Linked DNA regions of Homo sapiens: regions 1, 3, 4, 5, 6 and 7 are each linked to region 2. Evidence: promoter capture Hi-C in 16 types of primary human blood cells and fetal thymus (Javierre and others, 2016). All regions are on one chromosome and are shown on one strand. The core of a region is centred on a gene start or on the middle of the fragment in contact, and the rest is flanking DNA. Distances in the headings are between cores, read along the strand shown. Region 1 holds the start of LOC105376436 (a long non-coding RNA gene). Region 2 holds the start of NSUN6 (NOP2/Sun RNA methyltransferase 6). Region 3 holds the start of PLXDC2 (plexin domain containing 2). Region 4 overlaps PLXDC2 (plexin domain containing 2). Region 5 overlaps ST8SIA6 (ST8 alpha-N-acetyl-neuraminide alpha-2,8-sialyltransferase 6). Region 6 has its middle 48 kb from the start of ST8SIA6. Region 7 overlaps PLXDC2 (plexin domain containing 2).

Region 1 (3,965 bases), core at 708-3,207, 1.2 Mb after region 2:
AAAATTAGCAGGATGTGATGGTGGGTGCCTCTAATTCCAGCTACTTGGGAGGCTGAGGCACAAGAATCACTTGAACATGGAAGGCGGAGGTTGCAGTGAGCCAAGATTGCACCACTGCACTCCAGTCTGGGTGACAGAGAGAGGCTCCATCCCCAACTCCAAAAAAAAAAAAAAAAAAAGAGAGGGAAGAAGCACAGAAAGTAATAATGCATGACCTGTAAATCACATGTAGTGAGATGTGTAAAAAGCTGAATACCTAAACACTTGAGATATGAATCTGAAAAGCTGGAAGAGGAAGAAATGAAATTATCATTTTAAATGAAGAAGATAGCATTTTCAACTTGAAATTAAGTAGAAACTGTAAAACTGTAAAAAGCTGTAGTTTGGAAGGTGGTTTGTGTTTTTTATTTGCCATAATATGTCATCTTATGGAGGCTGTGAAGCACATTTTGGGTAAAGCAGTCTGAGTCAGTGACCAACACACTGGATTGAAAAAGAATTGTTAACTCTGAAAATGTGACTGAATTATGTGAAGAGGCTCAAAAGGTAAGAGTTATTCTAACAAGGTCTGTGCAATATTCTCTTGGTCTTAATCCCTTTTCCTCAAAGATGAGAGTTTGCCTTTCCTTTTAGTACAGAGGAAGTGTCTTTTACATGGGAATTTAATCTTTTGCTTTTAATAAATACCGCAAAGGTCAAAATGATTTTCTTTGTTATCTTCTGGTTTCCAAGTGTCTTTACTTAAATAGTCAGTATGACAGAATAGCTGAGGAGTTTTGGAAAAAGAGAGCTTAGCTTAGAGAAAGATAAAGAGGAGGAGGTGTAGGAAGGGAAGGGAAAGGCTTTGGACTGGAAAGTCTCAGCTAGCTCACAGGCAGTCTTTGAGTCCTGAATGTGTTTTGGAGCCTTCAGATACCAATTGAGATATGTGTCCTATTTGGACTGTGTGATTTTATAGGTGTCATTTTTTTTTTTTAGTTTAGTTTTCAGAAAAACAGACTCTTTGAATAATCTCCATAATGTTTGTATATGTTACCAGCTGGGGTCCCAGAGCTAGGAGCTATATTGGCATGCCTTTGAACTTTGAGAGCCCATTTGTAAATAAATTTATCTAGGTGATTCGGTTTAATGCCGAATACACAAAAGCCAAATTAAACTCTTAAGTGTGCAAATGAATTGGAGTCTAAAGTACATACTTATCAAGAAAGATGATAACTCTTCTCCAGTGGGGAAAAGTCCCTGTAACCAGGAGGGGAAAAAACCCTTTCTAAACAGGAGATCTCATAACCAGGACAGGGAAAGACCTCTCATAACCAATTCCCAAATAAAATCAAGCTCAGTAAAATAAAATAAAAAGAGAGTTTAGTCCAAGAGAGACTCAACAGGCAGTAAAAGAGGCAACCTACAGAAACAGGGGGGCATGGCCAGGCATGGTGGCTCACACCTGTATTCCCAGCACTTTAGGAGGCTGAGGTGGATGAATCACGAAGTCAGGAGTTCGAGATCGGCCTGGCCAATATGGTGAAACCCCATCTCTACTAAAAATACAAAAATTAGCTGGGCATGGTGGTGCCCACCTGTAGTCCCAGCTACTCAGGAGGCTGAGGCAGAAGAATCGCCTGAACCCAGGGGGCAGAGATTGCAGTGAGCCAAGATTGGGCCACTGCACTCCAGCCTGGGTGACAGAAGAAAGAAAGGAAGAGAGAAAGAGAGAAAGGGAGGGAAGGGAGGGAAGGGAAGGAAGGGAAGGAAGGGAAGGGAGAAAGAGAAAGAGAAAGAGAGACAGAAGGAAGGAAGGAAGGAAGGAAGGAAGGAAGGAAGGAAGGAAGGAAGGAAGGAAACAGGGGGTCCAAGGGGCCTGAATGTGGGTACCACAAGCCATAGTTCCAGGGCCTGTTGTTGATCTCTCCAAGGTGAGTCTGCTTCAGACCCCACTTCTGACACCAAGTATGCTGAAATCAAAATAAAATATAGAGATTGTCCAGGCATGGTGGCTTACACCTGTAATCCCAGCACTTTGGGAGGCCAAGCCAAGAGGATTTCTTGAGGCCAGGAGTTCATGACTAGCCTGAGCAACATAGTGAGACCATGTCTCTATAAACTAAAAATTAAAAAATAAAATAAAATTACCTGAGTGTGATGGCACATGTGTAGTCCCAACTACTTGGCAGGTTGAGGCAGAAGAATTGCTTGAGTCCAGGAGTTCAAGGCTGCATTGAGCTGTGATTGCGCCACTGCACTCCAGCCTGAGGCAACAGAGCAAGACCCTGTCTCAAATATATGTGAAATACGTATGAGAGAGAGAGAGAGAGAAATGAATCTGTAAGTGAAATGTTTTATTTGGGAATCATAGAATTGCAATTTGGGGCATACACACAGATGGAGTGTTCTTGGGTATGCCTGAAGAACAAAGAGAAGGTTGGGAGTTTGTATTAGTTAGTTTTCACGCTGCTGATAAAGACGTACCCGAGACTGAGCAATTTACAAAAGAAAGAAGTTTAATGTATTCACAGTCGCACGTGGCTGGAAAGGCCTCACAATCATGGTGGAAGGTAAAAGGCATATCTCACAGGGTGGCAGACAAGGGAAGAGGGCTTGTGCAGGAAAACTACCCTTTATAAAACCATCAGATACTATTCACAACAGCAAAGACTTGGAACCAACCCAAATGTCCAACAATGATAGACTGGATTAAGAAAATGTGACACATATACACCATGGAATACTATGCAGCCATAAAAAATGATGAGTTCATGTCCTTTGTAGGGACATGGATGAAGCTGGAAACCATCATTCTCAGCAAACTATCACAAGGACAAAAAACCAAACACTGCATGTTCTCACTCATAGGTGGGAATTGAACAATGAGAACACTTGGACACAGGATGGGGAACATCACACACCAGGGACTGTTGTGGGGTGGGGGGAGGGGGGAGGGATAGCATTAGGAGAGATACCTAATGCTAAATGACAAGTTAATGGGTGCAGCACACCAACATGGCACATGTATACATATGTAACAAACCTGCACGTTGTGCACATGTACCCTAAAACTTACAGTATAAAAAAACAAAAACAAAAACAAACCATCAGATCTAGTGAGACTTACTCACTAGCATGAGAATAGCACATGAAAGACCTGCTCCCATGATTCAATTACCTCCCCCCCAGGGACCCTCCCACAACATGTGGGAATTAAAGATGAGATGTGGGTGGGGACACAGCCAAACAATATTGGAGTTTTATCAGTAAGACAAGTGTTATGTATTGTTTTGAAAGAAAGCTCATTGGCACGATAGAAGGTTTTGGGAGCTGGCAAGCTCTGACTGGTGAGTGACAGTGGTAAGTAAAACTAGTCTTAGAGTCGCAGCAGGTGATTCCAGCAGCTGCTAAGTAAAACTCATCTTAGGGTTACAGCACATTGTTTTAGTAGCTGGGTTTGTGGATAATTTTTGAAACAGGTGCTATGTGCGGAATGCTTTCCCTCCGCTGGTCCCTAGACTCTGATTTATTTGGGTATGGCAAGAATCACCCAATTCACATAATCAACTTTCACAGAAGTAATTTTGTTGTTGGGATATGAGAGGATGTAACTTTTTGAAGTGCATCAACTTTTAAGAAGTCTCGTTAGGGAATCCACATTGTTATAAAAAATATCTTGAGGTGAGACACAGACACAATGGGCAAAATTCTCCATTAATATTCAGATTTCTTGTATTGCCTGCCCCCCACCCCCCCAACCCCCCATTTTATAAGCAGTTCAAGTCAGGGCTGAAATGCTGTTTGTTTAAGATAGAGAATAGTCACCCAAATGGGAGTCCCTGTGATCTATGGGGCTTTGTGTCAAGCTGAATAGAACCAAGGAAGTTTAGCAATTATTCAACTGTTCCTAAGTGCCAGGTTTCAGCAGCTTAGTATGATTTCATTTAATTCTCACCACAATGTTATTATGTAGAACTGGTAAT
Region 2 (3,735 bases), core at 62-2,561:
CCTAGGAACCTTGATTTACTCTTTAAAACAGAGAAAATGGGCTGGGCGTGGTGGCTCACGCCTGTAATCCCAGCACTTTGGGAGGCTAGAGAGTCAGATCAGTTGAAGTCAGGAGTTTGAGACCAGCCTGGCCAGCATGGTGAAACCCCGTCTCTATTAAAATTACAAAGATTAGCTGGGCCTGGTGGCACATGCCTGTAATTTTAGCTACTCGGGAGGCCAAGGCAGGAGAATCTCTTGAACCAGGAGGTGGAGGTTGCAGTGAGTCGAGATCCCACCATTCCACTCCAGTCTGGGCGACAGAGACTCAAAAAAAAAAAAAAAAAAAGAGCAGAGAAAATGATAAACAACTTGCAGGTTGTTGTGTGGTATAATGGTCATTCATTATTTTCTACTCTTTCTGGTAAAGAGTTGGTGTGTCATGGAAAGTACCTGTTCTATGTGTGTGTGTCTGTGTGTATAATTCGGTGTGAAAATTAAAGAGAAAAAAACAATAAAAAACCCTTTCCTATACTTATGTGTAAATTACCATGGTGTGCTGCAAAAAACATATGTCAAGGTGATAGAATTATTTTGACTTTCCTGTACAGTTATAAAATGACTCAGTGAGTTTGGTTAGATATCCTCGTTCTTTGAATCTATATCCTTGTCTGCTTATGATGAAAAAAAAGAAAAAAAAATAATGGCGAGGGTCTTCCAAACTCTAAAGAATATGTCAACTATGATACAAGTAGCAGTTAGCCTTATAACTAACTGTAAACACTGTCTGTGGGTTTTAAGTTTTACCTGAGCATTGGATATTAACAGACCATTAGCCCAACTTTCAAAAATATGAACCCTATGAACTTCACAACTGAAGTCAGATCTGTATGCCTGAGAGAGGTAAAATCATGTCATGAAATCAAACGGTGGCTGATGCGCCCAAATTCTGGCCTCATCCTCTAACTGGAGGACATCTGGCAGGACAGCAACTGGGCTGTGCCTTTTTTCAGTCCAGCAACATCTTCCACTCAACCCACGCCATTTGGCTGTTTCCCCATTGCCCCTGGCACCTAGCCCTCCGGTACCGGGAACTAAATATCTTTGACCATCCCGCCCGCGGGGTCTGCCTACTTAACCTGAGGCAGGTGAAAGAGCCTCACGCAGGGTTAGGAACCTCCGGGGGCGTGGCGTAGCGTAACGCAGTGTTGGGGAAACTTGCGGCTGTGGATTGGGGGACCGGAAAGGGAGGGGTGGGCCGCAGGCGCCGGACGTGACGTAAGCCGGAAGCGACTTTCCGCCGAGAAATAGGGGGCGCGTGTTTGGAAATTGATAGAAAAGATAAAGGGACCGAGCTGCTGTCAGCCTGGCTTACTGATCTGCGTCCGTTTCACCACGGATTCAGTTACTAAGCATTTTTTTCTTTTTTTGGTTCTTTGCAACGTGAGTGGCATTGGCTCAGTGATTTCCATGAGCATCTCTACCAGAAAACATTGCCTCGATGAGGTGTGGTGGAAGCCCGGCAGCCCCTTCTAATCGGCTAGGCTTGAGAAAGCGTGTACCTCTGCATTTCCGAAATTAACTCAGCGTGATCGGCAAGATTTTCCTCAGCATCTGGTGTCAAGACACTCGTCACTATTAATTCGGAAAGAAAAAAAAAAACAAAACACCGTTTTCCAGCATTTCTCTTGGTGGAGAACTAAACAACAGGAAAAATGTCTATTTTCCCTAAGATATCTTTGAGACCTGAGGTTGAAAACTATCTTAAGGAAGGCTTTATGAATAAGGAGGTAGGTCAAGTAAAGATGTTAGTTGATATTTTGCAAAAACTCAAATATTCGCACACTCGAGAGAAATAGAAATAAGTATAAAGGGAAATCTTGACAGCCGTCGTTCCTTACTACTTGTCTATCAAGTGTAAAAATACCAATATGTTTCTACAGGTATTAAAGCTTACTGAGATACGAAGTGAATAAGGTATATGTTTTAACATTTAGGAGTGGAAAAGAAGGGAAAAAAGGCATGTGCCTGTCAGGCATGGCACAAAGGGTTACAAGGATGAACAAGAAAAGGTCCCTGTCTTCAAGAACTCGAATCGAATTTTAAAAGAGCGCTGGCTCTGGCACTCAGGTGAAAAGGTTTCTGTAATTTGTTGAGTGCCTCTTAAATGCCAGCAGTTGTGCTAGGAGATTTGCATCTTTAATCTTCACAATCTTTTTTTTCTTAGAGGTTTTTCCTCTTTTAATAGACTTGAGCAGAAAACTGCTCAAGGAATTGTGTAACTGATCCAAGTTGACACAGCTATCAAGTAACTATTGAAATCTGGAGGGAAAGAGTTCAGGTGTAATGAACAAAGGTACAGCTTTTGAATCTCAGGCACATGATTTGCATTCTAGTGCTTTGTAAATTACGTGGCTTAACCTAGATTTTTCTCTTCTGTGAAAAATTGAGAATGGTTAAAAATATCTTGCCAGGTTGTTTTAGGATATTAAACGTAAGTGAATACAACTAGCATTGTTTTGGCATGTAAGTCCTCAAAAAATGTTAATTTTATTTGCTAAAGTCCTCAGTAAATGTTGATTATCTTTGATTGCAAAGCCTGTTGTCTATTCCATTTTACCATGCTGCCTCTAAGCAACTTTGTTTTTTTTCAAATCTTTAATTTTTTAGTCAAGTTAAAAATATTTTACCAGGTTGTTTTAGGATATTAAACGTAAATGAAAACAACTTGCATTGTTTTGGCATGTAAGTCTTCAAAAAATGTTAATTTTGTTTGCAATTGGCAGTGCCTGCCACAGAAGTCCTCAGTAAATGTTGATTGTCTTTTATTGCAAAGCCTGTCCTCTCTACCACTTTACCATGTTGCCTCTAAGCAACTTTGTTTTTTTTGAAATCTTTAGTTTTCTTAGTTAGAGTAACACCACTTAAATGTTACTCATTTTTGAATATGTTATTGAAGCCATGCCTTTTAGATTTGATTTCTACGTTTCATTTCCAAAGATTAGCTTGAGGTACTAGACTGTATGGAAAGAGAAAATATATTCTGTTGATTTCAAGGGACTTAAAATATAAGGCACATATTAGGAGAAGTAGGGGCATACCACAATTTTTTCAGCAGATTTTAAAATGGAGAACGTCGTTTTATAAAGAAGATCCAAACGTCTTTCTTTGACACTGCCTCTGCCTCGAGTCTCATCAGTGGTATGGTTTTACAAAATGAAAAGCTATGCCTTTGTGAAAAGTACTGAAGGGAAAGGAATATTAAGTTTTATGCCTTTTTTTTTTTTTTTTGAGACAGGGTCTCCCTCTGTTGCCCATGTTGGAGTGCAGTGACATGATCACAGCTCACTGCTGCTTCGACCTCTGGGACTCAAGTGATCCTCTCACCTCAGCCTCCCGAGTAGCTGGGACCTCAGACAGGGGCCACCACTCTGGCTAATAATATTTGTATTGTTTGTAGTGATGGGGTTTCACCATGTTGCCCAGGCTGAATGTTCAGTTTTGATAAGACTAAACCTTGAGAAAGTATGAATACTTTTAAGGCTGGTGCATGAGTAGGCTAACAAGTGGTTTGTGAAGATTCTGTAAAGCAGGGTTTAGTCAAATAGGAAGACAAAGAAATACGTTTCTTGAAAAGCTTCGGTTAATTACAAGGGAATATTGTTGAGTCTTTATACCGTCATATTTGACAGGTGTCTTTGCTACTCATCTTTTTTGGATAATATATATTTGTTACATTTAATAACACCATATTAA
Region 3 (3,566 bases), core at 755-3,254, 1.2 Mb before region 2:
GTCTTCTAAGTCGCGGCTTGGTAAATTTCACTCAAGGGTTTCCTTCAAGATCTTCAAGATTCACCTTGCCTGGAATCCCCAGGTGTCCCCCAACCTTCCATCTGTGACTCTCTAGTTGACTGTTGAGGACGCATGCATACTTTCCGGGCAATCATTTAAATTACACACACACACACACACACACACACACACACACACACACACACACCAGAAAAGAACAAATTGACAAATTGATTATCCTAGGGAGAAAGTTTTCGTTTTCTTTTCTTTTCCCTCCAAGTTTTTTCTTTTTTCTTTTTCTCTCGTTTCACCTCCTCTCGAAGTCCACCCTAGTTCACCAATTTCTGCCAAGATCTCTTTCTGCCTGTGTCTTCACTTTCTTCACTGAAAGGCAGAAATGGGGAGTAGGCACCCAGTTCGCGGTGGGCAGGGTTCCAGGAGGCAGCTCCCGCTCGGCGATAGCCCCCGGGGCGCAACTCCCCGCAGGACGCGCACCTGCCAGGACAGCCACTAAGAGGATGCGGAGGTTGGGGGCCCTCTCGGGGACAAAATCAGGGCACTCCAAGGAACTCTCTGCGCGTTCAGGCCTGTCTGTGAAGCTGGCAGGCGGAGGACAATGGGAGCAGGGGTAGGTCTCCAGAGGCGAGCCCGCCTCCACCTTTCCCACCTGCTCCCCACCTCTGCGCCGGCCGCATTTACCCCGCCCCCCTTCCAGCGCCCGCTTGGCCCAGGTCACTAGACGGAGCTAGTGGGGATCGCCAGGGGAAGGAAGGTGCTGCCACAGGGAATTTTCTCGTGCAGAGGGGAGACCTGCAATCCCTGGCTTTCACAACGTCCCCCACCCACCCCATACCACACACGCTTAGTTTAACCAGCAGCGAGGAAGGAGGAGGAGCCGGAGAGCACACAGCCTGGAGATGCCAGGTCCTAGGAGATGTATCCACGGAAGAAGCTTTGCTCTCACACTGAAGCCCTCCCTGGGCTACTTTGGGGAGACAGTACCACCCCCTGCCGCCCAGGTGAAGTAAGCCCGAAAGCCTCAAGAAAACCCCTAGTCCCCGGCGTCCTTCTCTTGATAACCCTCTTTCCCCATTTGGGAAGCCTAAGTTTAGCCGAAAAGCAACTGCAATAAGTTTCCCAAGGGCAGATAGGTGATGTTGGGGGGAGAGGGTAGGGAGCACGAGAGTGCCAGAGAGGTCTTCAGCTGCGCACAAAATCAGCAAGCTAAAGTGCATCTTACTTACCAAGGATTTGGTCTCCGGGTTTCCCATCGGCGAACTGAAACTGGTCCGTGAAGAAGTGGCAAAGTAACATAACTCCTGCAGCGGCCAGGTCGGCCTTCGGGAACCTCGCCATGCCGCCGCCGCCACCTCCCTACCCCACCCGCCAGTCCTTCGCCGGTGCTCGGGGGCTCCCGATGCAATAGGCACGACCGGGCCAAACGCTGCGGATCGGTCTCGGTAGGACCCGGAGGCCTTTGTAAATGTCGCTGCGATTTCACAGTAGGGAACCGAGAAGAGGAAGAAGCGAACGCGAGTAGGAGCGCAGCGCTCTTCGGACCTCTGAGGCTCTCTTTGCAACTTGCCACACTCGCAGCCCTCACCCGACACTGAACAACAACCGCGGGGAGGAGAGGCCACTTGCAGCCGAGGCTCGCAAACTGTCGGTTCCACTCGGGCAGCGCCAACCCGGTGCCCGCGGACGGTGACTTCCGAGCCCCAGCGATGCGCTCCACTGGGTTCAAAACAGATCTAATTCCACAGCCAGCGCCGCTGCCTGCCCCAGATCCACTAGGGCTGGTCGGCTCTGCAGGAACTTTCCTCTGTCTAGGGATGGCCCCGGCAGGAGGTTTAGGTTTGCGGGAAGGAGGTTGATGACGAAACCCTCCCGACAAGTTTTGCTTCTTTTCTTCGCCCGACGCAGGGCGCGCGTCCTTTCTCGCAGCCGGAGGAATGGGCAGCTCCAAAGAGCTGAGCCCTGGGAAGGTTAGGGCTGCAGCAGTCTGAGGTCCGAAGCCAGGAAAAAAATGTGTTTAAAAAAAAAAAAAAAAAAGAGGAAGAAGAAAGGAAAAGGGTGGAGTGGGAGGGAGTCACGCTGGAACCTATCGGGAGAGGGTTCCTCCGGGCTCAGGAGGAGGTGGCCCCAAGCCCCCGCGGAGCCCCAGGAGTTTGGTGGCGGAGGAGGCGCTGCCGTCGCCACGCTCCCCCGCGCTCCTTCTCCACACTTTGAGGAGGGAAGGCAGCTCGCAATTTGCCAGATCTGCCGCCGCACCCTCCTCCCTCCTCCCTCCGCCCTCCCCTTCGCTCCTCCAGGCTTCTCCCACCTTCCTCCCTGAAACCGGCAGCCCGCACAGACCTGTCCAATGGCTGCACTTTCCTCGGGGCTGGCTGAGGAGTCGCGGCCAACAGATTAAGCCGGGGGAGCCTAGCGAAGGGGAGGGAGAGGGCCACTCCAGCCCCGTGCGCCCCAGGCAGCCGGCTGCCCCAGAGCGCGGGGAGAGGGGACAGGCCGGGGAGCTATCGGGGGAGCGCGGGGCGGTACCTCCGCGCCGCCGGGGCGCCATCCTCGCAGCCTGCTCGCACGCCCTGGGCAGCTCCGCCAACTGCGCCCCACACCCACCTGGCTCCCGGGCCGCCTTCGCGCCCGACTGCGGGGGGCGATCGCGCCCCGCCCCGACCCTGGCGGGGTCTCCCTGGGCACGAAAGGGTTAACCACAGCTCGCCCCTTCGCGGAGGCTGGTTCTGGTAGTGGCTAGGGAGTGGAGAAAGCAAACCAGAGCCGGTTCGGTTACCGACTCTGCGAAGCCCCCTCGACCCCAGCCCAGCGCGGGAGGGTGGCGGAAGGTGGTGCACCGCAGCGTGGTCCCCGCCGCTGCCGCCGCGGCTTTGCAAAGTGTCAGCGGGGGCGAAAGCGAGAGTTTAAAGGAACAGGAGGCCCATTGAATTTCCTACCGGAGCTTTCAGGGGCTCTGGCTCCCCAGTTTGTTTTTGTTTTTTCAGCTCGGGGATCTGTTTCCGCGTTAACCCTTGCCGGCCCTCTCGTTAGTTGATATCTTATTTTGCATACAGTTAATCATTTTTGAAAGGGATAAATACAAGGAAAAGAAGCAAAGCGCTATTGGTTAAAAGTACAGGATCTAGAGCCCGGACAGCCTGGGCTGGAATTTCACCTCCCCCGCAATGAGCAGTTTATCTCCTAGCCTCAGTTATCCATCCATCAAATGGAGAGAATTAGAGTAACGCCCTTATAAGGTGGTTGCAATGGATTGGATGAGTTAACTGTATATTTAATAAATATAGAACATTGCCTACCGCAAAGTACATGGCTTTGTTTAAGTGTTTACTGAAGCAAAAGTGAGAGAAGACGACTTCAATCACATAATAAATGTGCATGTGTTCTAAGTTCAAGGTCCTTTCCACTCCAAGCTCTGAAGAGTCTATGGATGCTGTCAATAGATGTCTCGGCTTGCCACAAAACCCACTGGAAGTGGATCCGGATAATCAATCTACCTTTGCAAATGTGATGCTCAAAGGACGGCTCTCTCATGGGAAACAAGAAAGGTTTCC
Region 4 (3,543 bases), core at 1,037-3,536, 1.2 Mb before region 2:
CTAGAGCCCAAAAGTTTGAGACCAGCCTGGGCAACATAGCAAGACCCTGTCTTTACAAAAAAACTTAAAAATATTGGGAGTCTGGGGTGGAAAGACGGTTTGAGCCCCAGGAGTTGGAGCCTGCAGTGAGTCATGATCGTACCACTGCACTCCAGTCTGGGCAATAGAATGAGACCCTGTCTCAAAAATAAATAAATCAATAAATATATAAATTTATTGAATTGTAACTATTTTTTCCTTCTTGTTTCACCAAAATGCAAGTAATGGACAGAGGAAATGGTTTTACGTTAGTCACTTTTTGCTAATATCTTGTCAGGTTAAGAGTCTTACATGAACAAGAAATAAACTAAACCAAAACAAAAAGGACAGGCCTCGGTTGCTGATTTATGTGGAAGCATGTGACAAAGCAATTTACATAGGCAAACAATGATAAATGACCTAACAAGTTCAGTTACAAACTGAACGATCACTGCAGACTGATGCACATTTATATTCTATGTTTGCATTTCTGCATGTCTTATAAAACAAATTGCAAAATCCATTAATTTTGCATTTTGGTGTTTTTGTGTTTGCAACTCATTACAAAGTTAAACTAGGTCGGATCATTTCAGCAAGCACAAACTATGTAACCACCTTAGCATTCACCCATAAATATTGTAAAATTATCAGAACCTGACCTAAGCCACCCATTTATCATCTTTTACTTTCTTTCCAACTCATTTATTTGTCTCTGCCTGCCCACCAACACACACATACACACACACACACACACACACACACACACACACACTCTCTCTCTCTCTCTCTCTCTCTCACTTACTCAATGAGAAAACAGAGCAATGTTGCAATTACTAAGAGAAACAACCGTATGATCTATCCTGAAAGATAACCTACTGATAAGAAGGGCTTATGTGTTTTAACTTTTGTTCTTGTTTGTAATTTCAAACTTGCATAAGCTTGATATTTCACTTCATTTCTTTTTTTTACTTCAACCTGGTGAGGAATGTCTTGCTGGGTAACATGTTACAGGTGATTACAATCAGCCCTTTTAGTCCTCAAACAATCTTATAAAACAACTGTTGATAAAAAAAAAACCTTCAATTCACCTCGCAAGCAATACTTGGAGAAAATAAATAATGTCTCTTTTATAAGACTTTACAGTTTCTTAGTGAGAAGAGAGTTCCAAAAATTTCTTGAAAGGCAATTTTGAACTTATTCCCTGATTCCTTAAACACAAATAAAGGCTAGAAAGTCCCTATTTCACAAATGCTTACTGAGTACCTAATATGTGCAAGGGACTATTTTAATCACCACAAAAATTCATCTTCGCAAGAGCCATAAAATTAATTACAGTGAGGAAAAACAACATTCTTTCTTCTATTTATTATTGTAATTCCCGATCTCCTTATTGGCGAAAGAACAATGGAGTCAGGATTGCCTTTCTTTCAGGGTGTAAAATTGACTTTAAAAAGTGGCTGAAACTAAACAAATTATTTTACATATCCTGGTCTTGAATGCAGCTGTTATTTCTTTATGCTGTTAGAACCATTTCGTAGCCCCAGACTTCACTGATAAAATAAAATGGAACTTACTCATTTTTCCTGCTGCCACTTCTTAAGATGAGATTCTCTTTCCAACAAACTTGATTCTATTTGAGTGATTTCATGGATTTAAGGACTTCAGGTTACATAAAACGTGATATCATCTAAGCCTTAATTAAATTTTTATTAGGTGTCACAGCAATATTCTTGCAAGTGATAAAAGAAAGCCTTTTTAAAGTCAAGTTGCATTTTTGGAAGGCTGTGATCATTTTTGTTGAGACAGTGATCCTAACATGGTTTCCTGTATTGCTAGTATAGATTCTCAACTCACTTATGCACCTACTGATTGTCTTCCCCCATGCCTATAAATGAGCTCAAATCTCCTTTGCCGGCAAAAAACCCTCTCTTCTCTTATGTTCCCCTCTGGCCACTCCCTCTCTGTCATTTACTTCCCAACCATACTCTTTTTTTTGTTTTCTTTTCAGACAGGGTCTCACTCTGTTGCCCAGGCTGGAGTGCGGTGGACCAATCTTGGCTCACTGCAGCCTCAACCTCTTGGGCTCAAGAAATCCTTCCACCTCAGCTTCCAGTGTAGCTGGGACCACAGATGTGCACCACCACATCCTGCTAATTTTTTTATTTTTATTTTTGTAGAGATGGGGTCTCACTTTGTTGCCCAGGCTGGTCTCAAACTGCTGGGCTCAAGCGATCCTCCCATGTCAGCCCCCCAAAGTGCTGAAATTATGGCTGTGAGCCACCACACCCAGATCCCAGCCATGCTTTTTAAAAGGCTGGCACGTCATCCACCTTACTGCATCCTTCTCTGATCTTCATCACTACCCTACCACAATCTGCCACCAGCTAGCCACCATTCCTCCACCAAAACCACTCTTATTGAATTCCCTGATCTGTCCTAGTGATGCTTTTCCTAATCTGCCTCTCACTCTAGGTGGCTCCTCCTATATCTCCCGCCTGGGGGCCCATTCCTCAGTTTCCCCTTCCCAGACCAGCTCTCTAGGACTCTGACCTTGACCCTCTGCTCTTCTCTGATTATTCCTGCTCACTGGCTGGTTCCCATCACCACCAGATACACCTCGATGATTTGACATCCTGAACTCATCTGAGCCCTCCCTGCTGAGCCCCAGTCCTGGGAGAGTTGCTGTCTTCACTGGTATGTCCCATGAGCACCTCAGTACTCGCCAAGTCTAAGGTTGAGCTCATGTTTCTATTCCCTAAAGCACCTGGAAAACATGAGAATTATCTTAGCTATCCTCCTCTTATCTGAAGCCTGCATCACATTCCATCTTTATTGATCCAGTAGTGCTGAATTTGGTCTATCTCTAGACCTGCCCTTCCTAGCTGCTCTCCACACTAGAGAGACCCTTTGAAGAGCCCATCTGAGTTTGTCACTCAGCTGATAAAAAACCTGTCTGGGTGCGGTGGCTCAAGTCTGAAATTTCAGCACTTTGGGCCAACTGTCAACTTCATGGGAGAATTCAACACCCGGCTAGGTGTGCAAGGCCCTTCCTAATCTTGTGCCTGCTCTTGCCCAACAGGCAAGGGCAGTTCCCTGAAGATTTCACAGTTCTCTGCCCCAGGATTGTTCTCTCTGTTCAGGATGCCTTTCCATCATCTCTGCCCTCCTGCCACTCACACTTCAAATGCAGACCCAGACATACCTCCCTAGGAAGCCTTCCCTGACTCTCTAGGCTAAGACCTATGCTCCCATTTCTCAATGCCATAGTGAATGCACCCACTCTCTCTCTCACACACATATATACACACATCACATTTTCTTACAATTGTCCTTTTTACTTCATGGTAACCTCTACCTGGCAAAGGCTGTATTTTGTATCCCTTCACATCACAATGCTAGGCGCATAGGATACATCTAGCAAATGTTTGTATAGTGAATAAATAATTCTTCTCAGAGCTAAACCTCACTATCAACCCCAACCTAACAGCATATTAATGTCACTTTAATTCAGTCATCTCAGTCCTT
Region 5 (4,124 bases), core at 395-2,894, 1.2 Mb after region 2:
CTCACTTACACCTGGACTATATAGATTTCTTTCCCCTTCCTGTACTCCCTCCCCTACCTCCTCACATACACCTCTGTACTTTATTATTTTTGACTGACAACAGATTTCTCCAAGTCTTACCCCTCCTAAGCCTTTCAGGTTCTATCTTCTATTAATTCCCTGTCAACTCTCTAACTCTGATGTGTGAAGAGCCCAGGACTGGTCTAGCTGAGACAATTCTCCCTAGGAGACAGATGGGGCAGGAACAAAAGGAGAAGCAGGGAAGGCAATTAGGGGCTTATTTTGGCAGCCTGGAGCTGGGTGGAGAGTCTGAGATCAACTTCATTCTTTCAGTGAACATTCATTGTGTGCCAGGTCTGTGCTTGGTGCTGGAGAATGTGCAGGGAGCATGCCAGACAAAAGCCTGCCCTCCTGGAGCTCACTGTGCTAAGTGGTAGGAAAGAAGTCGAAATAAATGCTGATGGCGGGGGTGGGAGGTGAGCATTCCATAGGGAGTAGCAAAAGTCACTCTGAGGGGTTGACATTCGAGTTAAGACCTGAAGCACTAACAGGAACGCTCAAGGCAGAGGAACAGCAGCCCTAAACATGGCATATTTGAGAAGCAGAAAGAATGGATCATGGAGGGTGATAGGGTTTGGATGGTTGTCCCCTCCAAATCTCATGTTGAAATGTGAGCTTCAGTGTTAGAAGTGGGCCTAGTGAGAGGTGTTTGGGTCATGGGGGCAGATCCCTCATGAATGTCTCGGCAGTAATGAGTGAGTTCTTATTCTCTGAGTTCACACAAGATCTGGTTGTTTCAAAAAGCCTGGCACTGTCTCCTCTCTCTCTCTCTCTATCCATGTGATGTGCTGGCTCTCCTTTACATCCCGCCATGATTATAAGCTTCCTGAATCCCTCACCAGAAGCAGATGCTGGCACGATGCTTTGTGTACAGCCTGCAGAACTGTGAGCCAAATAAACCTCTTTTCCTGATGAACTACCCAGTCTCAGGCATTTATTTACAGCAATGTAAATGGACCAATACAGAGAGCAAAGGAGGAAATAGACCTACTAAGTCAGGTTATGTTGTAGGATGCAAGCCTTGGTGAGGATGAGTTTTATTCTAATAATAAGTGAAGCCTCAGAAGGGTTCTGAGCAAGGGCATGACAATATGTCATGTATGACAAGTATGATTTAAGTTTTTAAAAGAGTACTCTGATAGCTGCATAGAGAATGTGTGGCAGTCAGGCAATTGAAGCAGAAAGACTACTTATGGGGCCATGGCTTCCATCCAGACAAGAGCTGATGTGCCTTGAATGAGGCAATAGAAGTACCGATAAAGAGAAGTAGATGGATTTACGGCTGAATCGTCAAAAGCCCGGGTATAGGAGAGAAGAGAAGGACAGGAATCCGAATGATAAATGTTTGGCTTGAGCAGTTCATTACCATCCATAGAGATGGGGAAGACTGGAAAAGAGGGAAGTCAAAGGTTATGTTTTGGATATGCTACATTTGACAAGACTATTAGACGTCCAATTGGAAATGTCAGATGGGCATTTCGACCATATAAATGAGTCTGGAGCTCAAGGGAGAGGTCAGAACTGCACATATCAATCTGGGTGTCATCGCCAGAGAGATAGGACTCAAAGCCAGAGAGTAGAATGAGCTCACTTAGCTCTGGAGATAGGTGGAGAAGAAAAGGGGATCTAGGAGCAAGTTCTAGGGTATTCCCACATTTAGAGGCTTGAAAGAGAAGCAGAAGCCAGCAAAGGAGAGGCAGAGGGAGCAGCCAGGGATGCAGAAAGAAAACCAGGAGAGTGTGATGTGGTTTTCAGGGAAGAGGAGCAGTTGACTGGGTCAGGTGTTCTTGAAAGATCAAGTAAGATAAGTGCGGCCCAGTACAGTGGCTCACCTCTGTAATCCCAGCCCTTTGGGAGGCTGAGGCCGGTGGATCACTTGAGGTCAGGAGTTCAAGACCAGCCTGGGCAACATGGTGAAACCCTGTCTCTACTAAAAATAAAAAAATTAGCTGAGCACGGTGGCGCACCTGTAATCCCAGTTACTCGGGAGGCTGAGGCAGGAGAATCGCATAAACCTGGGAGGTGGAGGTTGCAGTGAGCCGATATCATGCCACTGCACTCCAGCCTGGGTGACAGAGCAGGATTCTGTCTCAAAAAAAAAAAAAAAAAAAAAAAAGACAAGTGAGGCGTCCATTGAATTTGGAACATGGGGGCTTTTGATGAGCTTGAGATGAGCCATGTTGGGTGAGAGAGCCCTTTCTTTCCACTCTGCATGTCTGATATTTGAGTCTGAGAAATAAACTAACAGATCACTTAACGAGAGAAAAGGCTAACACATATATTATGTGTATGCGTGCATTCCAGGAAGGTGAGTGTCCAATGACCCAATGGGATTTAGAAGCTTATATACCCTTCTTCACAGGGAGGGGGAAGGGTGGGATGCAGACAATTTAGAGGAGGAGTAAATGAGTTTTAGGGAAGATGAATGGGCCTGAAGAACAGATGGTAGTCTGAGACAAAGCCCATCTGGACTCCTGGTGTGTCATCAATTCTAGTCTTCTTTTCCTGGGATAGGCTTCAGTCTTCTCCCAGTCATTGAGATACCCTGGGGAAGCGATTGACAATGATTGAGTATCTTAGGAGAATCCTGTGTTTAGGTAGGGAGGGACCTTTGGGGAAAGTCCTTCTCTGCATTTGCTGCTCTCCATGTGCTCTCAGTTTGAAGTCTGAAGTGTCATATTTTGGGCTTTCATTTTCTGAGTCCCAGAAGCTACATTAGCCAGTTTTAAGTCTTCTGATGAGGGAATAGATTGTTGAGGAAGGGGAAGCAGTAATTTTAGATAATTTGTTAGAGAAGTGGTGCTTACAGGGGGTAGAAAAATGAGTTGGGAGATGGAGAGGGATTATGGAGTCAAGGGAGGAGCGTGTTTGTGTGCTTGTGAGAAGGATAACCCTAGTTATGTAAGAGAAGGAAGAGATGAGGGGGTCAGTAATGTTAAGAAAGTGAGACGGGCAGGAGCCAGAACATACTGGGGGTTACTGATTTTTGATGAGAGCAGGGACATTTTTTTCTGTTGTAACATATGGTAAGATGAAAAACACAGGCACTCTGAAGGACTGAATTCTGTCTCCCCAAAATTCATGTTGAAGCCACAGTCTCAAATGTGACTATATTAGAAGATAAGGTCTTTAGGGAGATAATTCTATTTAAATGAGGTCATAGAGCTACCCCTTAATTTGATAGGGCTGGTGTCTTTATAAGAAGAGGAAGAGACACTAGCACTCTCTCCCTCATGCATGCACCAAGAAAAGACAATGTGAGGACCCAGCCAGCAGGCAGCTGTCTGCAAGCCAGGAAGAGAGCCCTCACCAGGTACCAACGATGCCAACATTTTGAGTCTTCAAAATATGAGATGAAAAATTTCTGTTGTTTAAGCCACTCATTTTATGGTATTTTGTTATGGCAGCCCAAGCTGACTAAGACAGGCACAGAAACTTAGAGATTTTTAGATACAGTGGGAGCAGTATGAAAGTGTTGCTCCTCTGCAGGCTTCTATTTTTTTCAATAAAGTATGAAGTGAGGTCATCAGCAGCAGAGAGTGAGTGTGGAGGTGGGGATATGGGAGGTTGGAGGAGACGGGAGAATAAATAACAATTTTGAAAGAGGAAAATGAAATTTATTAGGAAAACATAGTAGGACTGCCAGGTATCCTTAAATGCCCATTTGAAGTTCATAGAACTTAGAGTGAAATCATTCAGGAGAGTTTCTCTAGCAGTATTTGGCTAGTTGGGGGTAGCCCCAAATGGCAAAGAGTTGGGTACATCCATGCCTCCAAATTTGCCAGTCAAGGACAACAGAAAAAGAAACAAGAGAGATAAGAATGTTTTCAAGGGTGTGAGTTGGGGAAGGAGGGAAATGAAGATAGGAGGCGTGTATGAAGATAGGAGGCGTGTATTGGGCATGGGGGCTTCTCAATGAGATTAAAGAATCACTGCAGAGAGAATACTAGAATAAGTGAGCTGGATAAATAGAATGTATTGACATTAACAGTAATATATTCATTATATGAAACTAGTGATAAAAAATACCCACTTCACAGGATTATTCCAAGGAACAAATGGAA
Region 6 (3,960 bases), core at 1,395-3,894, 1.2 Mb after region 2:
TGTATAGTCTGATCTCTTCCCAAGATAAATTTTAGAATTTCATAGACTGTAACAAGAATACAACTTCTAATAATATTTTTAAAATTCCGTCTCAGGTCAGGAAAATAAGATTGTGGGTTTTTTTTGCAAACTCATCTTTTCTGTCCTCGAGTCTGTCCTCAATTCAAGTCAACGAGCATATGTTAAGCACCTCTTGCACACTCCAGTGCCATGCTAAATGTTTTAAGCAAAGCCAAATCAGTCGAAGAGTTAACCTTAAGATCCATTCATTGAGCATTTCTTTTGCCAAACACCATGCTCGTTGCTTTATGTACATGTCTTATTTAACCCTCTCGATAATCCTTCGAGGTGTTGATCCAGTTACTACTGCTGTGCTAAAAATAACCCCAAAACTTGGTAGCTGAAAATGACCATTTTATCATGCTCGCAGCTTCTTTGGGTCAAGAATTGAGCTCATCTCTCTTCTCTTGCATTTTATCACAGACAGAAAGAAAAAGTCAAGTGGCTCTTTTAATATTTTCTGGGGAAATTTGCTTAGCTAGATCATCAAATTCCTTAAGCATATTTTCTACTTTTAAAATTTTTTTGTAATTATCATTTTCTCATTGTGTATTTTTAATTTTTTTATTAATAGTTTTTGGAGTACAGTTGGTTTTTGGCTACAGGGATAAGTTCTTTAGTGATGATTTCTGAGATTTTAGAGTATTCATCTGCAGAGCACTGTACACTGTACCCAATATGTAGCCTTTTACCCCTCACCAACCTCCCAACTCCTCCACAAAGTCCAGGACATCATTCTTATGCCTTTGCATCCTCATAGCTTAGCTCCCGCTTATAAGTAAGAACACACGATATTTAGTTTTCCACTCCTGAGTTACTTCCATAGAATAAGGGCCTCCAGCTCCATCCAAGTTTCTTCAAAAGACATGATTTCATTCCTTTTAATGACTGAGTAGTATTCAGGGTGTATATGTACCACATTTTTCATCCAACATTTTCTGTTTTTTTCACATTACCACATGTGACAGTGTGGCCAGACTTTCACCACTAGGCAAAATGATTTTGCTTTCCTCCAGCTTCTAATGACATTTTCCTTGCTTGTCTGCAAGTCCCCACCAACAGCCTTCTCCAGCCTAAGATGATAACAGTCTCCTCAAAGCCCGTTCAGCTGCTGCTAGACAGTGGTTTCAAAGTCAACGCCTCATGCTTTAGATTTTTGGTATAGTAGCACTCTATTTCTAGGTGTGAAATTTCTGTTCTGATTATTTTTGCTACATAACAAGTTATCCCCAAAGTTAGTAGCTTAAAGAAACTCTTTTATTATGTTCTTGCAGGCTGTAGCTCAGGAATTTGGACAGAGCAAAACAGAAATGGCTCGTCTCTGCTCCATGAAGGCTGGTCCTCAACTGGGAAGACTCAATGAACAAGTGGGAACTTCACAATTGAGGGCTGGCATCACCTGGACAGGTCTTCAGTCACATGCTTAGCAATGGATGCTGGCTGTTGGCTGGGAATTCAGTTGAGGCTTCCTACCAGACATTTAGCCAAGGGCCTTTTTGTATGACCTAGCTTTCCTCATAGCCTGGTGGCCTCAGAGTAATTGGACTTCTTAAATGCTAGTTTAAGCCTCCACAAGTGAATATCTCAGTGAACAGGGAAGAAGCTGCGTAACTTTTTTTTTTTTTGCTTAGTCTTAGAAGTTACCGAGTGTCGTTTCTCCTGCATTTCATTGTTTACAAACAAGCCACAAGTGTACCTAGTTTCAAGAGGAGGGCACACAGACTCTGCCTCTTCATGAGAGCGTTGTCAAATAATTTATGGATGTATTTTAAAGTTTTCTGTGTTATCATCTTATTTTGCAGATGAGGTGAAGTAAGTGGGCTGAACCCAAGTTGAGTTAACTTCACAGCCACACCTCTCAATTATTAAGGTCTATTGCTTCCAAATATGTTAGAGAATAAGCACCAGTCACAGAAGGGAGAACATGTTGGGCTAAAAGATAGACTTCTTGAGGTGAGCTTGGGAAGAAGTGATGATACAAAAGGTTTTCAATGTCAATACAAAAGAGAACACCAGTTTGTTATGTTGTTCTAAAATCATATGTTCATTAAGAGGATCATTAACATGTTGATGTTCTTAAAATTAACCCAGGCTGGGAAGTATGTCAGGTCAGAAGGAAGGAAGGCAAGAGGTATTTTCTGTGGGCTTTGGAAAAAGGGGAGGAAGAAAAGTCTCAAAGATGGAGAAAAAAGGGCAGGTCATGTCCAGAAACACGTAGTCCAAATTTTTTTGCGAGGAGAATACGTTAGATCTAGGAAGAGAGCAAAGGCTTAACAGGTAAGAGGATGGAATCTTTTTTTTTTTTGAGGCAGAGTTTCACTCTTGTTGCCCAGGCTGGAGTGCAATGGTGTGATCTCGGCTCATTGCAACCTCTGCCTCCCGGGTCCAAGCAATTCTCCTGCCTCAGCCTCCTGAGTAGCTGGGATTACAGGTGCCCGCCACCACATCTGGCTAATTTTTTGTATTTTTAGTAGAGATGGGGTTTCACCATGTTGGCCAGGCTCCTGATCTCAGGAGATCTGCCCACCTCAGCCTCCCAAAGTGCTGAGATTACAGCCGTCAGCCACCACGCCGAGCCAAGAGGGTGGTATCTTATAAGGATTTTGAATGCCATGCCTAGGAATTCAGCCCTTATTCTGTAATCGTGTCATCTAAGGTTCCAGAGCAGAAAAGTAATATGATTAAATCTTTGTTTCAGACAGATAATTATGTAAGTACTATGATTATGTAAATTATATAAGTAATGTGATTTAATCTGTGTTTAAGACAGATAATTTCAAGACGATAGATGGATTAGTGTGGTAAGGCTGCAGGAAAATAACTAGAGGATAATTATTAGGCATGATGTTATTTTATTTCAGGCGTATTTTCCTAAAGAGGCATTAATCTTTTGTCTTAGTTGTACCCTCCTAAAAATACCTCTGATTTTCTCAACAGCATTCTATAACTGAAGGACTTATTTATATGTATAAGTTTACACATATAAATAATATGCATTTATATGTATACATATGTGTATACTTTCATTTACTCTACAAAAATTTTGATGAGGGTCTAAAAGCTATATATAATATGAGAGTAATTTAAAAAATCAAGGCCAGAGAAAAATTTACATTCATTAGCAAGATAAAACAAACTAGAAAATATTATGGGCCGGGCGTGGTGGCTCATGCCTGTAATCCCAGCACTTTGGGAGGCCAAGGCAGGCGGATCATGAGGTCAGGAATTCGAGACCAGCCTGACCAACACAGAGAAACCCTGTCTCTACTAAAAATACAAAAATTACCAGGCGTGGTGGTGTGCACCTGTAATCCCAGCTATTCAGGAGGCTGAGGCGGAGAATCGCTTGAACCTGGGAGGTGGAGGTTGCAGTGAGCTGAGATTGAGCCCATTGCACTCCAGCCTCGGTGACAAAGCAAGACTCTGTCTCAAAAAAAAAATAAATAAAAGAAGAAGAAATAACATATTATGCAGCAATGCAAGGCATAAGGCCATTGGAGTTACTAAATTGGGTTACAAGTTTGACCCTGAGCATCCAGGAAGCCAAAGCAAAAAGGAAAACACAAACTCCTACAAAACATATGTCACCCATGAGACAAAAATTTCCTAAGGAGAAGCAGAGTGAATGATGGTCATGAATTTGAAAGCAGTTATCACATACAGTCAAATAAAATTAGTCATTTGATCCTGGTTTTAGTAATAGAAGGAGCACATTTGTGTAGATTTTTCTTTTTTCTTTTTTTGAGACAGGGTCTCACTCTGTTGCCCAGGCTGGAGTGCCATGGTGCAGTCTTGGCTCACTGCAACCCCCGCTTCCCAGGTTCAAGCGATTCTCGTGCCTCAGCCTCCTGAGTAACTGGGATTACAGGCGCATGCCACCACACTTGACTAATTTTTGTA
Region 7 (4,067 bases), core at 1,442-3,941, 1.4 Mb before region 2:
TTAAAATATAGAAGAGGAGTAAGATTTTCCACATCTATGGATAATCCAATGTACTCTCTTGTATTAGTCCGTTTTCAAGCTGCGAATAAAGACAAACCCAAGGCTGGGTAATTTATAAAGAAAAAGAGATTCAATGGACTCACAGTTCCACACGGCTGGAGAGGCCTGACAATCACGGCAGAAGGTGAAGGAGGAGCAAAGTCATGTCTTGCATGGCGACAGGCAGGGAAACTCTGTTTTATGGAACCATCCGATCTCAAAAGACTTGTTCACCATCATGAGAACAGTATGGGAAGAGCCTGCCCCTATGATTCAGTGATTTCCCACTGGGTCTCTCCCACAACACATGGGAATTATGGGAGCTATACAACTCAAGAAGAGATTTGGGTGGGGACATAGCCAAACCACATCATCTCTATACCGCAAACATAACATGGAGATTCTGTCCACATCAACATTACAAAATTTGCTTTTTCTTCATAAAATCATCATCAACACAATCACATTTTTTATTTTTATTTTTTCGAGACAGAGTTTCACTTTCGTCACCCAGGCTGGAGTGTCATGACACGATCTCGGCTCACTGCAACTTCCGCCTCCCAGGTTCAAGCAGTTCTCCTGCCTCAGCCTCTCGAGTATCTGGGACTACAACACGCACCACCATGCCTGGCTAATTTTGTATTTTTAGTAGAGGCAGGGTTTCACTATGTTGGCCTGGCTGGTCTTGAACTCCTGACCTCAAGTGGTCCACCTGCCTCGGCCTCCCAAAGTGCTGGGATTACAGGCGTAAGCCACCACGCCTGGCCTACATTCTTTTTTTAGATTAAGTATTTTCTGGTGACTTATTTCCTCTTAAACAGACTTTCTAGTTAAAGGCTGCAATCAGCTATTAGAGCCCACACAATGACCTTGTGTACAGCAATTAGCAACTGGTAAAATTTTTAAAGAAACATATTGCACAATTTGTAAAAATAAGATGCCAACACAACTGGCAGTGTATGTGTGATAGCCGAAGATCAAAGAGAGTTTTTAGGAATGCATTTAAGAGAAAAACTGTTTATCTCTACTTTTTAGCTAAATCTATCACACATATTTGTTGATCATTCTTGACTGTACTTTCCTCAGATATGAACTTCCATGCACATGAATAATACAACAGTTGCTGGATACAACTGACATTTTTAATTAGGTACCAGAATGAGAATTCCATGAAACATACTGTTGGCAGGCACCTAAATTTAAGCTAAGATTTCTGCTCTCAAAACTAATAGCTAAATCCTTGCAACCCAAAGTGTGGCCTATGGCCTACCCACAACTATATCACCTGAGACCTTATTAGAAACAGAATATCAGACCGGCTCAAGCCTAGAACTAAGAAATCAGAATATGCATTTTAACCAGATTCCCAGGTGATTTGTAAGCTTGTTAAAGTTTCAGAGGCATTGGCCTAGCTCCCAATCTCTGAGTCACTTTTATCATGAAACTGTACTAATATGATCCATAATACCTATTTTTAAAACCTCCCTTCTTCAGTCATCCAGTGGCTTTTGAGTCAAGGCAAAAAATCACACAGTACAGTCCTTTTAATAAACACTTTCAATGTCCCAAGAGTGGAAATAGGACACTTCCAAATATTGCATGTGAATAAGTGTTCAAAACCACATATCTGGTCTAGCATGTCACAAAGGACTTTGAGACTGATTTCTATAAAGTGAAGAACACTATAAGTGACCAACACTATTCTACAGCAATAGGCTGATGAAACTGAGCTTTATTAAGCATCAGTAATTTCAGCCAACACTGTCAAAGCACTCTCCATCCTATGAGGTGCTATCATTGCTATGAGAGCTTCATGCCAGATAATGGGAAGGTGCCAGCTTCCAGGGGAAGATGCTTGCCCTGCTCATTTACACATATGTCCCTGAGTTGTGGAATTCAGTGAAGGCTGCTCCAACAAGGCCAAATCATGAATGGAATCCAATCCTGCCTGAAAGCCCTGTAAGCCTTTATATTCCCAAAATAATTATACAAAGTAGCACATGCAGTGACTATTTCCCGACACCTCATTTTTAATACCTACACTTCAGCAGAAGGTACTTTACTTCTCACCTGGCTAAGTGGTTATACGTCCGTATGAATGAACAGAGGAAATACAAGAAGAAAGGTCTCACAGAAATCAACATTCAGATCAATAGCGGCATTTGCCATCTGTTGGGCCCCTGCTTATTCAACAGGATATACAGTTGGCTTCTAGAGATTTTATATGCTCATGGGAAGAATATTAGACAATGAAAACAATAACAACAACAAAACCTTAACTGGAAGAATTCTTTAACTGGGCTACCAAGTTTTACAATCCTTCCATTATCTGTTCTTGTGAAGAGCCAGAAAAAATACTGTCACCAAGTACCAAGTGAAGAGAATAACAGCCTTTGTGTCAAAACAGTAAACATGCTATTGTCTTGTGTTGGTTTGGGATTTTTGTTGTTGTTGTTGTTTTATTTAAGTTAAAGTAGAACATAAAGTCGAGACAATGAAAAAAAATGAGGAGAACATCTGAGGAATACCATTCTGGGTGGTTTTTGTCTCACTGTGATACACATAATTTTAACAGCCACTACTGCAGTCAGGGCTACGAGACAAAATAATTCTGACCCCTGAAACTGAGTTTGAAAGCGTCTAAAGGAAAAAAGCACACAGAGTCTTTCTAGCTCATTGTTTGTATTTAGCAATATAAACCAAAAAGATAAGCAAGACCTTGTAACAATGCCAGGCACAGAGTATTCACTTTATAACCATTTGGTTTCTTTCTTATTTCTGTTTAACAATGGGGCAAAACTATTTTCCCCAAAAGAGATGCAACCGTGTTCACAAATGCCTTTTTTACCTTTTTTTTTTCTTAGACTGAGTCTCGCTCTGTTGCCCAGGTTGGAGTACAGTGGTGGAATCTCAGCTGGCTGCAACCTACACTCCCGTGCTCATGCAATTCTCATCCTCACCCTCCTGAGTAGCTGGGATTACAGACACTCGCCAGCTAATTTTTGTATTTTTAGTAGAGATGACGTTTCACCTTGTTGGCCACGCTGATCTCAAACTACTGACTTCAGGTGATCTGCGCACTTCAGCCTACCAAAGTGCTGGGATTACAGGTGTGAGCCACTGCGCCTGGCCCACAAATACCATTTCAAGAGCCAGGATACGTAAAACTTTCTGATATGGTTTGTGTATTTGTCCCTTCCGAATCTCATTTGGAAATGTAATCCCAGTGTTGGAGGTGGGGCCTGGTGGGAGGTGTCTGAATCACAGGGGCAGATCCCTCATGAATGGCTTAGTGCCATTCCCTTGGTGATGAGTGCGTTGAGGAGAGATCTGGTTGTTTGAAAATGTGCAGCACCATGCCCCTCACTCTCTCTTGTTCCTGCTCTCATCATGTGACACGCCTGCTCCCACTTCACCTCCTGCCATGGTTGAAACCTTCCTGAGGCCACACCAGAAGCCAAGCAGATGCTGGAGCCATGCTTCCTGTAGGGCCTACAGAACCGTGAGCTAAATCAACCTCTTCTCTTTATGAATTACCCAGTCTCGGTATTTCTTTATAGGAAGGCAAAAATGGCCTAGTACACTTTCCAAACTTTCAGAGGTAGATTTTTGTTTCCGCAACTAGTGGCAGTGCCAAGGAGCTACTTGAGGACTTTAGATCCCAATAATCTCCATCAATCCCCAGAACCCCAACAAAATAAATGAATCTTGAAATAAAAGCAGTGTTCTTAGTATGCAACCCTGGATTCAAAACAAGTCTTTTATGAGCCAGACTGAAACCCCACAATTACCCTCCTATGGATACTCATGGGCTGCTGCTGTTCAAAATCACTACATAATTCAAGTGTCATTTGTCTTTCCTTTTGCTAGAAAGAGCAACGTCAAGCCTAGAGGATCAACCCTGTAAGCCTGGCAAAGCTTGCATTTGAATACCAGCAGGGTTTGAATGCTCATTAATGGGAGACCTTAGGAAAATACTAAAACCTAACTCTGAAATTGCCCTCGTGTAAAAAAATCATTGAAATTGC

What was found. Contacts are between HindIII fragments. The CHiCAGO score rates a contact against its expected background, and 5 or more counts as called.
Region 1: a contact is called between a fragment that was not itself captured here and the fragment with the promoter of NSUN6 in region 2, in 1 of 17 cell types (naive CD4 T cells). The highest score is 6.4, in naive CD4 T cells.
Region 3: a contact is called between the fragment with the promoter of PLXDC2 here and the fragment with the promoter of NSUN6 in region 2, in 1 of 17 cell types (monocytes). The highest score is 6.6, in monocytes.
Region 4: a contact is called between a fragment that was not itself captured here and the fragment with the promoter of NSUN6 in region 2, in 1 of 17 cell types (M2 macrophages). The highest score is 5.2, in M2 macrophages.
Region 5: a fragment that was not itself captured here is called in contact with the fragment with the promoter of NSUN6 in region 2 in 5 of 17 cell types (non-activated CD4 T cells, total CD4 T cells, naive CD4 T cells and 2 more); the score reaches 17.6 in non-activated CD4 T cells.
Region 6: a fragment that was not itself captured here is called in contact with the fragment with the promoter of NSUN6 in region 2 in 1 of 17 cell types (total CD4 T cells); the score reaches 5.3 in total CD4 T cells.
Region 7: a fragment that was not itself captured here is called in contact with the fragment with the promoter of NSUN6 in region 2 in 1 of 17 cell types (monocytes); the score reaches 8.7 in monocytes.

Annotation. Positions count from the first base shown.
Region 1 is chr10:17,435,486-17,439,450 of GRCh38, reverse strand. All of the region lies in intron 2 of ST8SIA6 (ST8 alpha-N-acetyl-neuraminide alpha-2,8-sialyltransferase 6), which reads left to right. It overlaps LOC105376436 (a long non-coding RNA gene), which reads right to left and starts at 2,161. Exons shown (of 4, transcript XR_007062074.1): 1 at 2,131-2,161. The HindIII fragment of the contact is 4,359 bases long and covers 1-3,965 here.
Region 2 is chr10:18,649,163-18,652,897 of GRCh38, reverse strand. NSUN6 (NOP2/Sun RNA methyltransferase 6) reads left to right here and starts at 1,311. Exons shown (of 11, transcript NM_182543.5): 1 at 1,311-1,769. The coding sequence starts at 1,695. RefSeq lists an enhancer at 1,072-1,171. The HindIII fragment of the contact is 3,002 bases long and covers 1-1,933 here.
Region 3 is chr10:19,814,870-19,818,435 of GRCh38, reverse strand. PLXDC2 (plexin domain containing 2) reads right to left here and starts at 2,004. Exons shown (of 14, transcript NM_032812.9): 1 at 1,245-2,004. The coding sequence starts at 1,356. It overlaps LOC124902388 (a long non-coding RNA gene), which reads left to right and starts at 2,208. Exons shown (of 2, transcript XR_007062078.1): 1 at 2,208-3,566. RefSeq lists an enhancer at 2,315-3,080. The HindIII fragment of the contact is 8,470 bases long and covers 955-3,566 here.
Region 4 is chr10:19,834,657-19,838,199 of GRCh38, reverse strand. The region is part of intron 1 of PLXDC2 (plexin domain containing 2); the gene reads right to left. Among named protein-coding and RNA genes, the nearest start is that of PLXDC2, 20 kb to the right of the region's middle. The HindIII fragment of the contact is 2,656 bases long and covers 959-3,543 here.
Region 5 is chr10:17,413,856-17,417,979 of GRCh38, reverse strand. All of the region lies in intron 2 of ST8SIA6 (ST8 alpha-N-acetyl-neuraminide alpha-2,8-sialyltransferase 6), which reads left to right. Among named protein-coding and RNA genes, the nearest start is that of ST8SIA6-AS1, 29 kb to the right of the region's middle. The HindIII fragment of the contact is 1,519 bases long and covers 885-2,403 here.
Region 6 is chr10:17,500,207-17,504,166 of GRCh38, reverse strand. No RefSeq gene overlaps it. Among named protein-coding and RNA genes, the nearest start is that of ST8SIA6, 48 kb to the right of the region's middle. The HindIII fragment of the contact is 8,012 bases long and covers 1-3,960 here.
Region 7 is chr10:20,005,012-20,009,078 of GRCh38, reverse strand. The region is part of intron 2 of PLXDC2 (plexin domain containing 2); the gene reads right to left. Among named protein-coding and RNA genes, the nearest start is that of PLXDC2, 190 kb to the right of the region's middle. The HindIII fragment of the contact is 2,536 bases long and covers 1,424-3,959 here.